Linked DNA regions of Homo sapiens: region 2 is linked to region 1. The links are contacts of gene promoters, found by promoter capture Hi-C in blood cells and fetal thymus (Javierre and others, 2016). All regions are on one chromosome and are shown on one strand. Each heading gives the region's core, a stretch centred on a gene start or on the middle of the fragment in contact. The rest is flanking DNA. Distances are from core to core; before and after follow the strand shown.

Region 1 (6,507 bases), core at 2,590-5,089:
CTTTCCTGTTCCACATTGACAGGTACTTCATTTTCATCATAGTAACTTTCAGAAACCTACCTTTCCAATGATATGACATCATCTAAAACAATGTAGTGCAATCTAATATTGAAATATGTGAACTGCCCTAAACTAGTACATTGAACAATGTCTAACACATGCCAAGTTTCTCTCAAAATTTGTCCCATAGCCCCTTGTGAGTTTGCTATGGCATCTCATTCTCAGAGGACCTCTGTGCACTGTTTAAGACAAAGGGATTAGGACAACGAAACCCTAGACACATTGAGCTTAATTGTGGTAAAGGTGTTTGTAATGGCCTAATATTCACGGCTCTGGAAAGCTATAATTAAGTTAAAAGTTCAGCACTCAAGAGCCTGTTTATTTTCTTTTGGGCACTTGAGATAATGTCTTCAGAAACATTATGAAAATTCTGAGGTGCTGTAACAGTATTTGTAAAATTAGCTGGGGAAAGAGTTGTCCACTAGGATGTAAGTTCCGAAAGGCCAGGGAGTTTTGTAACCTCAGTGTCTAGAATAATGTCTGGGATATTACTAGTCCTTAATAAGTATTTGATAAATTAATGAAAGAAACACGAAATCACTTACATATTGAAGTCTTGGTGTTTTTAATAGAGTTGCAGAGTTGGCTTGGGTTTCATCCTTTTCTCTGTTTTTCCTTAGTCAGTGTCCTTCCAAATGAAACCTAAGCAACAGTGTAGTTACAGATTATAGATGTAAAAGTGTTTACTGCAAATATTTGCTCCATAAATAGTTAATTTTTAAAATAGGGAGGCAAAGTACGGATGGTGGTGAGGATACAGGCTTTGGGGTAAGACAAATCTGGGTTTGAATTGAGTGACATCAAATTTCAATCATCAAAATTTAATCAAATTATCAACTTTCAAATCAATTATCAAAATTCAATTATCAAATTTATCTGGGTCCCAGCTTTTTTTAATGCAATTTAGGGATAAACATAATATTAGACATGGTTGCTGTAAAGGTTAAACGAGAAAACATATGTGAAGCACTTAGTGCAATCCTTGGAATATATGAAGTGTAAATGAGAGCTATTACCCTATTAGGCAATTTTCAGTTTACTTGGCTCATCTCATTCCTCACTCAGAAGGTGAGTTTTAAGGCATATGAGTAGGACTGTACATTATATACACCAGGCAAATGCTACTTTAGCACTGCCCTGGAATGCTTTTCCACTAGACATCCACTTCCTTCCTGTGGGTCTTTGCTCAAATTCCCCTTAGTGAGGCGTACACAAAACTTGCTATTTATAATTGCACCTCTCCATACTCCTTACCCTGATCAGCTTTTCTCCCTAACACTTATCACCTTACAATATACTATTTTCTATTTTGTTTATTTTGAGTCTGTCCTTACAAGAACATAAACTCCGGGAAGGCAGAGATTTTTGTCCGTTTTGTTCAATGATGCCTAAGGTCGTAGATCAGTCCCCAACACTGGGTAGTCACTCAATAAATATTTGTAGAATTGAATTTATGTGATGTGAATATATTCCCACTGAATTTTGTACTTTTTAGTTTGGGTCCATTTAGCTTGTCAGCATGATTTTGAAAAATGATTACCCGCTTTCATCCTGCATCTTTAAGTATGACTCATCACTCACATACCATATAACCAGCACTCACAGAGGAAAGCTCCAGGTACCCAGCTCAGTTCAATTACTAGCTGTGTGAACCTTGGCAATTTATTCAGCTTCTCTGTGTCTTGAATGCATCATCTATACATGGGGATAAAAGCCATCTCTACTCCATAAAACTGCTAATGAGGATTCAATGAGGTAATGCATATGGAGTGCCTACAACAGTGCCTGGCACACATTCAATAAATATTAGCTATTATGATTATATTTACAGCCAAGTCCAGGACCCTCTCCTCTCAGTCCTGTTCTGCATCTCTATTCCTCCCATGCTGGAGTATTCATTCTCTCCTGACCCACGCTTTCTTTCATTTCCACCTCTTACCCATCAGTTCTGAAAATGATGTCAAGGTCTCTTCAGTGCCAACTCTGCTCTGCCCTCCTTTTTTTTTTTTTTTGCATTTGTCATTAGATCCAAACTGCTTTCACAAGGTTCAGCTAATTCCCTGACTAACCTGTGCCTGGACTAAAGCTTTTATAACAATGTGATTCTAAAAAAGTTCCCACAGAAACTAGAGGGTAACATTACAAATTTACTTGGCCTTAATCCAGAACTATTTTAACACCATCTTTTATCACATAACTTACTCCATTTCAAGTTTTTTTTTAAGTGTGGCCTCCTTCACATCTTGTGCTTATACTATTTTAAAGAGAAAAACAATTTAAGGTCTTATAAAACAATTTTGTTTGCCTTGAAATTTATTTAGAAATTTTCGAAATTTTGTGTATATGTTCTCTGAGCTTTATTCTGAGTCCAGAGGAAAAGAAAATATCCTCTTTCCTGGATGGGCTGTGCCATCTCATCTTGGGCTGTGAAGTCTGCCCTACCCCATGCCACCAGTCTCAGGGGAAGGAAGCTGCCAGAGAACTTGGCTAAAAAAGGGGGATGGGGAGTAAAAGATCCAAACGATTAAATTTCCAGCTCTCAAAATAACCCCTGACTACTCCTGTCACCTCCAAATCAGGGCTTGCACACTTCTTCATGCTGGCAAAGTGCCACCCCTCTGGCCTGATCCCAGGGGGCCCTGATGAGCTATGGACGCCCCTTTATCTCTGCAAGACAGCCACGTAGAGAAGCTGGGGAGCTCACTGAATTAAGGGTGGACATGCAAGATGTATTTTCTCTTTTCTTATACTCTTACCATTCTTCTCCTTAATCTCTCTTCTGTCTTCCCCTCCATCTGTCTCCAGGCTCCTGAAAGGCCCCGTGATAGTGTTTTCTAAAACTTAGTAATTTGAGTACCACTATCACGATGTTCCTCTCCCCTGCTCTGCCTACCCCTCCGCCCCACCATATCCAAATTCCACCTGTTCTATTTGATAGCTTACTTTTTCACTTAAAAATGCAAAATCTAGCTCTTGATGTATATCACTGATTTAAATTTAAAATCAGTTTCCTTGCCATAAATAGAAAGCTCCCTGATAAATGTAATGCAAATAAAAACATATAGTAGTGGAATTTTAGTTGGATATGGCTGCTTGCTGCAGGCCTGTGCCTGAAACCTGCTGTTAGGTTAAGAAATGCTGGAGAAGTGTTAAAAACATATCAGCATCGCAGTGAGACTTGATCTTTGAAAGAGAGACACAGAAGGACAACCGAAAAGAGAGCAGCTTTCTCAAGAGGTAAATAAGTTTGTTGAAATCTGATAGGCTTCATCCCATTTCCTTCAACAACTGAGTACACTATTTGCTAACTGTACTAAAAAACGTTTTGCACATTTTTTCTTATTATTTGCTCACAGCTTTTGACTACCAGAGAATGTTTCGGATACAGGACTAATTCCTGTGGATGACAGAATGCGACCGTTGAATGGGACATTGGGTGTCATCTGGTCCAAATCTTGACCCCTTTTCATTTTCCCCGAAAGAAAGACTTGCGGCTCGGAACCGAGGGCGGCATGCCCAAGGTCACAGAAAGGGTGGTCTAATGTTTTGGTTCCTGCAGCCCAGAGAACAAGCTATCCCATCCCACAGGAGCCTTGGCGAAAAGCTCCCCGGCCGGCGCAAGGCCAGACTTCTCGCCTCCACTGTGTTGATTGCGGTTGCCAGGGCAGCGGCGCATTGCTCCCCGCCTCGTCCTGGTGACGTCACAGAGCAATGTCCAATGGGAAAGCAGCTCGGTGTCACGCACCTCCTATCCCGGCGGGCACCGCCTGCGCCGCGGCGAGTGAGGCGTCGTCCGTACTGGAGGCTAGCTCTTGTCGCGGCCGCGGCGAGTTAACATCGTTTTTCCAATCTGTCCGCGGCTGCCGCCACCCAAGACAGAGCCAGAATGTTCAGGATGCTGAACAGCAGTTTTGAGGATGACCCCTTCTTCTCGTGAGTTACGGGAGCCAGGAGTCCGGGGTCGCGCGGGAATTAAGGTATCGAGGGGAGCTATTTTAAGGGAAAAGAGCGAGTTTTAGAGGGCGAGAGAGAATTCGGAGTAACTCTGGAGGCGGTTTGAAGGAGACGAGGATTTGGAGGCCTGGGAGGGAAGAGAGAGGAGGATTTAGGGGTGTGTGAGACAGGGAAGAGACGGATTTGGGCGCATGAGGTGGAGAGAGGAGGGTTTGGACGCGTGAGGTAGGCGGAGGGAAGTTTGGGGGCGTGAGGTGTGGGGAGGAGAGTTAAGGCTGGGAGTGGGGGGAGAAGAGTTGAGGCCGGGAGGTGGGGGGAGGAGAATTGAGGGCATGAGGTGGGGAGAAGAGGTTGAGGGCGTGAGGTGAGGGAAGGGTTTGGGAGCATGAGGTGGGAGGGAGGAGGGTTGAGGGCGTGAGGTGAGGGGAAGGGTTGAGGGTGTGAGGTGAGGGGAAGGGTTGAGGGCGTGAGGTGAGGGGAAGGGTTGAGGGCGTGAGGTGAGGGGAAGGGTTGAGGGCGTGAGGTGGGGGAAGGGTTTGAAAGCGTGAGGTGGGGGGAGGAGGGTTGAGGCTGTGAGGTGGGGGGAGGGTTTGGGAGCGTGGGGTGGGAGGAGGAGGGTTTGGGGGAGTAAGGTGGAGGGGGGAGGGTTGAGGGTGTGAGATGGACGAAGGAGGATTTGGGGGTGTGAGGCGTTTGGAGGAGGGTTGAGGGCGTGAGGTGGGGGGAGGGTTTGGGAGCATGAGGTGTGGGGGAGAGTTGAAGGTGTGAGGTGTAGGAGGAGGGTTGAGGACGTGAGGTGGGAGGAGGATTTGGGAGCATGAGGTGTGGGGGAGGGTTGAGGGTGTGAGGTGAGGGGAAGGAGGGTTTTGGACCGCGAGGTGGGGGGAGGAGGGTTGAGGGCGTGAGGTGGGGGGACGGTTTGGGAGCATGAGGTGCAGGGGAGAGTTAAGAGCTTGAAGTGCAGGGACGAGGGTTGAGGGCGTGAGTTGGTGGGGAGGGTTTGGGAGTATGAAGTGCAGGGGAGGATTGAGGGCATGAGTTGGTGGGGATGGTTTGGGAGCGTGAGGTGGCGGTAAGAGGGTTGAGGGTGTGAGGTGGATGGAGGAGGATTTAGGGGCTGAGGAGGATTTGGGGGCATGAGGTGTGGGAGGAGGGTTGGGGAGAAGGGTTGAGGGCGTGAGTTGGTGGGAAGGGCTTGAGAGCATGATGTGGGAGGAGGGTTGAGGGCGTGAGGTAGGGGGAAGAGGTTTGAGGGTGAGAGGTAGTGGGACGAGGGAGGGTTGGGGCGTGAGGTGGAGGGAGGAGGGTTTGGGGGCATGAGGTGTGGGGAAGAGGGTTTAGGGGCATGAGGTGTGGGGGTAGGAGGGTTGAGGGTGTGAGGTGGACAGAGGAGAGTTGATGGCGTGCAGTGGGGGGAGGAGGGTTTGGGGGCGTGAGGTCGCAGGAGGATGGTTGAGGACGTGAGGTAGAGAGTTGAGGGCCCCAGGTAGGGGGAGGAGGATTTGGCTGCATGAGATGGAAAGAAGGCCCTTCCTCACACTCCCGGGGTGCCTGCTGCTTTCCATTTGGCCGGACTTTGGGTGCCCGTCATGGCTTCCTGTGTGCAGAGTTGGCCTTTGCAGCTTCAAGGGCTTTGCAGGTGACATAACTACCATCTCGGTGAAACTTATGGTGAGAATTATGTTCACATAATTGCAAATGGGAGCAGGGAATATTTTATAGCTCCTCTTTAAATTCCAAATAGGAACAGGTAATATTTTATAGCATGACAGTTCATTGAAAAGGGGAAGTTTTTAAAACAGCATTTTCCATGTGAGTGGGGAATGTGTCAATGAGAGCACGACAAAGTTGGAGAGTTGTGCTTTCTCTTCGAAGTTGTTGGAAGTTGCCATGCCAATTGCGCTGTTTTCTTTGCTCGCTTTGTTACAGAGCTAACCTTGTTTGTGAAGGGACTCCGCTTTCTGTCAAAACTAGAAATAGGACAGGGAAGCTGATGGGGCGGGGCGGGGGGAGGGGGGCGGGAGGAGGGCGGCGGGGGGGGGGGGGTGTGTATTTAACACCTCAGGTAAGCAAGTGCCATTCGTTGCCTTTGAAGGTTCCCAGTGAAGTAATGTGATGCCCTAGAAAGAAGGCATCCAGAAATTGGTTTCACTATTATTTATTTTTGAGTTGTGGGATTTTTTTTCCTTAATTCTAACTTTGGCCATTGTTACAAACACATTGACATAGTCTAGTTGTATCCCTAAGAGGGGAAATTTGTAATACTTTTTAGCCTAAGTGTTTTTTGCCAGTTTGAATTTTGATTTCAAGTCTAGTTTATTTTGATCCCTTAAATTTTCTAGGTTTGCAATTTGGAGAGCATTTTTTAAAAAGGTCTTAAAATAAGAGTTTATTGCACATATTTTTCAAACAATATCTGTGGGGGGTGTGTTGTGCGTCTGTGTTTGTTTGTTTGAGACAGGGTCTCACTGTGTTGCCCAGGCTAGAGTGCAG
Region 2 (6,899 bases), core at 2,303-4,802, 940 kb before region 1:
AAAAATAGAAGAACAACAAATTCTTTTTTTGGTCAATATTTCCTTCTTTCACCATTTTGCAGTAAATAGTGGGCAGACAGATGGTTTGCTTCCAGATGCACAGGTATTTCCAAGTGTGATGAGGTGGTAATGTTGTCTGTTTTATTTCTCTCTTCTTAAGTGTTTATATTCTCTTTATTATATCATTCTCCCACCCCCTTGATTCTTGTCTTGTTTCTTTGATTTAGAAAATTGTTTTTGAACTATTAGACAAGTACAGAAAATAATTAAACATCTTTACCCATTTCCAAGAATTAATAAATATTTGTATTTTGTCATATTTCCTTCAGATCTTTTAAAAAGCTTTTGTTGAGGCAGAATTTATATGCTCTACAGTTCACCTATTTAAAGTGTACAATTCAATGGTTTTTGGTATAATATATTCTTTTTTAAAATTATGGTAAAATATATATGACATAAAATTTGCCATTTTAACCATTTTAGGTGTACAATTTAGTGTCATTAATTACATTCATAATATTGTGCAACTACCACCACTATGGTTTTCACCACCAAAATTTGATCATCACCCTAAACAGAAACTTCATAACCATTGAACAAGTTCTCATTCTCCCTTTCCTTTGACCTTGGTAATCTCTAATATACTTTCTGTTTCTATGAATTTGCTTGTTCTAGACATTTCACATAAGTGGAATCATACAATATTCGTTCTTTTGTATCTGGCTTATTTCACTTAGCAAAATGTTTCCAAGGTTCATCCATATTGTAACATGTATCAGAATTTCATTTCTTTTTATGACTAAATAATAGTCCATTGTATGTATAGATCACATTTGAAAAATCCATTCATCAGCTGGTGGACACTTGGGTTGCTTCTATCTTTTGCTATTGTGAATAATCTTATAATGAACATTGGCATATAGTTATCTGTTTGAGTCCCTGCTTTTAGTTCCTTTGGGTATATAATTAGATGTGGAATGGCTGGGTCATGTATAACTCTATGGTTAGCTTTTTGAGGAACTACCGAACTGTCTTTCATAACAGATGTACCATTTCCCCACAAGCAAGGTATGAGAATTCCAATTTCTTCACATCTTTGCCAACACTTATTTTCCATTTTTTGATTTTAGTTTTGGTTGTTGTTGTTGTTGTTACTGTTTTTTAAATAGCCATTTTAGTTGGTGTGAGTGAAGTATCTCATTGTGGTCTTGATTTGCATTTCCTAATGACTAATGATATTAAGCATCTTTTTATGTGTTTATTGGTTGTTTATCTTCTATGATGAAATGTTTATTCAAATTCTTTTCCCTTTTTAAAAAATTTGGGTTGTCTTTTTGTTGTTGCATTATAGGAGTTCTTTGCATGTTCTGAATGCTAAACGCTTATCAGATCATAGTTTCCAAATATTTTATCCCATTCTCTTGGTTATCTTTTCACTGTCTTGATAATGTCATTTGGTGCTTAAGAGTTTTAAATTTTAATGAAGTCCACTTTATCTATTTTTCCTTTTGTTGTTCTTGCTTTTGGTATCCAGAACTTTTTTTAAGGTGAGAAATAAAACACAGCTGGTAAAGATGATGTTCCCTCTGTATTCTTCCCCAATTCAGCTCCCCTTCCACCCCAGAGGCTACCATTATCACAAATTTGATGCAACATTTCCTACCCATGTTTTTATATAATCAATACTTACATATACATAAATCACAAACAACATTCTTTTGTATACTTTTAAAATTATACGTACATTTTATCATTTTTCTTTCTGCTGTTTTTTGAGCCAACATTTGAGACCTATTCATGTTGATCAATATTGACTTAGTTTATTCATTTTTGTGTTTATAATGTAGTCAATCAGATGATTAGGAAGTCATATTCAAAATATTTAGCAACTGGCATGGCTCTGGAACCAACCAACACACATAAACAGCAGTAACTCTGTATCTATGTGTACCTGCACACACCTGGCTGAATACCAGCCCAGCTTCCACACTTTATTTACTCATTCCATTACTGTGAAAATTTAGATTTTTCTCAATTTTTCATGATTATAAATAATACTGCTAGAAATATTCTTGTAGACTTCTCTTCATGCATATGTGTGAGAATTTCTCTAGGATACATACGTAGGCTAGAATTGATGGGTGGTCTGCTACCCACATGTTCTATTTTATTTTCCCTGTTGTATCAGAATTGTGTCTACGGCCTAAAGATTAGGACAAAAAATGTTATGTTCCCAACATTCCATATAACCACTATGAAGTCATGTCATAGCAGTTGTGATCAGCTACTTTCCAGGAGGGCATACTGAGAAGCACCAATGCTAAGAATAGGTTATTCTAATCACTTCCACCCAAGTCAACTTAAGGAGAGAACAGGAAGAAAGGAGGGGGCCTTTGGAGGTAGTACTAAGTTCATGAAGAGAGGATATTCCCTCTCTTCACATAACCACAATATTCACTATAAAAGCCAAGGAAGGAAGACCAAAGATAATCACTGATAAAGGTTTTCTGTGCATCTGTCAGAATCATTCTCCTTCCCTTCCACATATAACTCAGTCAGAGTCTGGTCCTCTTTCATGGGAAATTGGGTGAGAGCCTGGACCTTCAGAGTGCCTGATGCTGCCAGGGTGTGGAGGAGGAGGCAGGAGAGAAGATAGGACTGAGAGAGGGACACCTGCCCTCCCACCATTTAGCATGGCAAATATACCACTGCTGGTTTACATGAGTTGAGAGAACATCAAGGAGCATGCCTGGACTTCAGCCACCTTTGTAGTACTCCACCAGAGTGCCATTCTCTAGGGGAACATCATGCTCTGTCAAGACACTGAGGCAGGGTGGAGGAAGTGAAGGCAGGTTAGATCCCATGTCAGACAATTACTCAGGGGATAAGTTCCCATGGAGCCCTTCAAAGAATCCATACCTGCGCCCCATGAGAGCCCAGCAATTGGATGTTGCCATGTGGAGGAGGACATCAAGAGCTCATTGGCATGGGCCAGAGATGTAGCTAGCACTACAGGAAGAAGATTGCACCCTCACCTAATCACACAGGAAATAACTTTGCTGTTTTCCCTTTTCTCTGGAGACATAGAAAGTTGGTATCTGAGAGTCTGCCAGCTGGGACTCCACCTCCACCGGCTAAGAGAGCCCTAGCAGTAGCTGTAGCCAAGAGAAGGAGGAAAAGAGCTTCGCATCAGATAAGAGATCAATGCTTGGAAACAAACAGGACTGAGTTTTAAACACACCAATAAGCAAAAGGGATAAAAGCTAGAGAATTTGGCCAAAGGTTATTAAGAGAGCTTGTCCTCAGCTGGCAGGGAGACTCAACGTAGTGCAGTTTGGGCATTCGTCAGAGGGAATAAAATCTCATCATGTTTATTATCCAATGAGACTAGACTGCTCAATAAATGAGGGAACCTCTATCAACCAGTAACTGCCCAGGAGCTCTCCAATGGGAGCTAAATTATATTCCCCTCCTCAGGGAATGAGAGTTCCATTGACAATCTGATGGGTGTACAGTGATATCTTTAGTGTCATTTCTACTTGTTTAGATCTTCTTGTTATTCATGAAAAGCATTGATTTAGGGCAAAAACATCAAGAAAACAATCTGACCAAAACCCCAGAAAATTGCCAAAAGAGTCATCATTATATTGGGTTCATTTTTATTTTCACAAAGAGAAATTAGCTTGCCCCAAAATATTAGTGTTGAAGTAGCCAAGAAAACTTACCCAGTTCAATATTTTTCCTTCATCAGAATCCTGGCTTCCTGAGGACCCCTAAAACCTCTTCCTTCCCCCCTTCTACTCCTCTCCTCTCAGTGATGTCAGAGGCATCTGAAGATATGAGCCTGCAGTCCTGGGAGGCTCTACCTCTGGCCTTTTGTTCAGAACGTCTTGCTGGGTGTCCTGCTCTCAATTTTCCACCCATTTGCCTTACCCTGGACCTGCACCTCTGCTAGTGCTTAGCTTCTTCAGATGGGCAACCAGCTGGCCTGCCAGCCTAGTTTTCAGCTGCAGATTTGCCTCCACAACGATGGTTCACAGCTGAAGCCAATGGGCCGGGACTGTGTCTTGCCTTCTCCCCTCTGTCACCAACCCCCAGAGTCCAGTCTCCAGGTATCCTTGGTCCAGGAGGAGGGCTGGGCCCACCTTGAATCCATAGGAAGGGAATTTGAACACATTCTGCCTGCAATCCCGTTGCATTTTGTTTTTAATTTAAATGGATGGATTTGCAGGCTAATTGTTATCCTGCCACCCTCAGCTGACAGGGTGTATCAAGGGAACAGTCCTTGAAGGTAAAAGAGCCGTACAGCTGGATTTAAGTAATAAGACATCTCTCACAAACCTGCACAAGTTGCAGTTTGATGAAAATTACAGTCAAACCTTGTGTTGTAAAGTGCTGTTTACTGGAGGAAAGAAAAAAAATCCTGTAAGATATAGAAATAGTACGTGAGACAAGCTGGCAGGGTGCTCGGAATCATTATGATGTGTAAAGAATTCCTTGACAATGACGGATCACCTCGGGAACATCTGAGCGGGGCCTTTTGTTTATCTTCACTTGCCTTTGCATTTATGTCATGTCTTTCACTTGGGGGTGAGATTTCGTCTTTGAAAGTTGAAACGATTTTTAACTCCAGAAAGGTTTACTCGGTTTTCATGAACTTGTTTTTTTGTGTCCCCCCACCACACATCCCTCTTCTACTTCCCTCTCTCTCCTTATGCCTCTTTTCCTCCCTTCCAGCTGGGGTGTGTCAGTCCTGGATACCAGATGCAAAATGATTAAGCCAGTGCAGTTTTCCAAGTTGGACTCGTTATTGATTAGCACTTCCTAAATCAAACAGAATTGCTGATCGCTATTGCAGGGCATCCACCACTTGCTTGGGATCCAAGTTCTGTTGCAGTGTTTGTGCCTGAGCAGGCATGGGGGTTTTTGATGTGTTCCCCCAACTTAATCACTGCTGTTTCCTGCAAAGGAAGAAGAATGGCAACTTTCATCACCAATTCGTGTTTCTTAAGCTCCGACTGTGTGTGTGGCAGTGTGCAGTCACACAGGGGACTTTGACAATTAGCAGGAGCCACTGTCTTTACTCTCCTTAGCTGCGATAATTAATGCCTTAGGACATTTTTATGATTTGGTATGTGCCTGGCACATGACACATAGTACTGAGAGTGTCAGTTACATATGACTCTCTTAAAAGGATGGAGAATTTAACAGAGGTCATTTTGTCCATTTGATTTGTAGATACATTAGCAGGCAATTTGAAATGTTAGTGAAATAAAATTAGAGAGGTTCTGTTTGCAAATCAGCCACTACCCAGGCATCTGTCCAAGAGTCTGAGGACCAACCTCACTCTTACATCACCCTGTCCCAATATCTGCTCTTGGCGACATATCAGGACACAAGTTGGCAATCTCCATGAATATATATGTGTTTCTTTTCGTCCCTGCACCCTGTCCCCCAGCCTACCCTGGAAAGATACTGGTAAACTTTTAAAAACTTTTATTTTGAACAAACAAACTTAGCTGGGCGTGGTGGCGGGTGCCTGTAATCCCAGCTACTGGGGAGGCTGAGGCAGGAGAATCCCTTAAACCTACGAGGCAGAGGTTATAGTGAGCTGAGATCACACCATTGCACTCCAGCCTGGGTGTCAAGAGCGAAACTCCATCTCAAAAAAACAAAAACAAAAACAAAACAAAAAAACCCCAACTTTTATTTTTAGATAATTCCAAATTTAAAGAAAATTACAAGACTAATAAAAAGAACTCCTATATACCTTTTATATATCTTCACCAACTGTTATCATTTTGCTCCATTTCATTATCTCCCTCCCTCTTTCTTTATCTGCCCCCACCACACACATACACACACTCTTCTATAATTGCTTTTCTTAACCATGTGAAAGTAAGTTGTGTACAACGATTCTCCTTGTCCCTAAATACTTTAATGTATATGACCTAAGGGGAAGAATGTTCTTTTACATGACCACAGTATTATAAATTCCATTTAACATTGGCACAATGCTATTATGTAAATTTAGCCCATATTCAAATTTTGTCAACCCTACTGTTATGGACTGAATTGTGTCTGCTTAAATTCATAAATTGAAGCCCTATCCCCCAGTGTAAGGGTACTTGGGGAGGGGGGCCTTTGGGAGGTCATGAGGGTAGGGTCCGGGTCTGATGGGCTTAGTGCCCTTGTAAGAGGAGACACAAGAGTGCTTTCTCTGTCTCTTCCTGCCATGCAGAGACACAGCTAGAAGGTGGCTGTCTGCAAGTCAGGAAGAGATCGTTCACCAGACAAGACCTGCTGGTACCCTGATCTTGGATTTCTAGACTCCAGAACTGTGAGAAAATAAAATTTCTGTTGTTTAAGCAACCCAGACTGTGGTATTTTGTTCTGGCAGCCAGAGCTGACTAATACATGTTCCAATAATGTCCTTTATAATATTTTCTCCAGCCCTATCAAGATCTAATCATGAATCATGCATTACATTTACTTATCATGTCTCTTTAGTCTCCTTTAATCTGGAACAGTTCCTCAGCCTTTTACTATTTTGTTGTTTATGACACTGGCATCTTTGAAGACCACAGGTCAGTTATTTTGTATATTATCCCTCAGTTTGGGTTTGTCTGATGTTTCTCATGATTAGATTTGGGTTGTACATTTTGAGCAGGAATACTTACATAAGTAGAATTATGTCCATCTTAATGCGTCATATCGAGACGCATGATATCAGTTTGTCTCATTTTCAGCCGTTACCTAAGCTAAGCTTTTGTTAAAAGTTTGTAAACTCACTGTTGAAAAAGCTGTCAGAATAGGTGGCTAGTATGCAGTGTTGAAGACCTTGAAACCCAGCTCTAAGGATTAAAGAACAATTAGCAACATGTGATTTTGTGTCTGAC

The links. The method cuts DNA at HindIII sites, captures the fragments that hold promoters and counts their contacts. A CHiCAGO score of 5 or more calls a contact.
Region 2: a fragment that was not itself captured here is called in contact with the fragment with the promoter of MLF1 in region 1 in 1 of 17 cell types (M1 macrophages); the score reaches 8.8 in M1 macrophages.

What each region holds. Positions count from the first base shown.
Region 1 is chr3:158,567,355-158,573,861 of GRCh38, forward strand. MLF1 (myeloid leukemia factor 1) reads left to right here and starts at 3,840. Exons shown (of 8, transcript NM_001369783.1): 1 at 3,840-3,993. The coding sequence starts at 3,947. MLF1-DT (MLF1 divergent transcript) reads right to left here and starts at 3,712. Exons shown (of 5, transcript NR_104147.1): 1 at 2,817-3,712; 2 at 606-702. The HindIII fragment of the contact is 5,771 bases long and covers 2,145-6,507 here.
Region 2 is chr3:157,627,127-157,634,025 of GRCh38, forward strand. No RefSeq gene overlaps it. Among named protein-coding and RNA genes, the nearest start is that of VEPH1, 130 kb to the left of the region's middle. The HindIII fragment of the contact is 6,424 bases long and covers 341-6,764 here.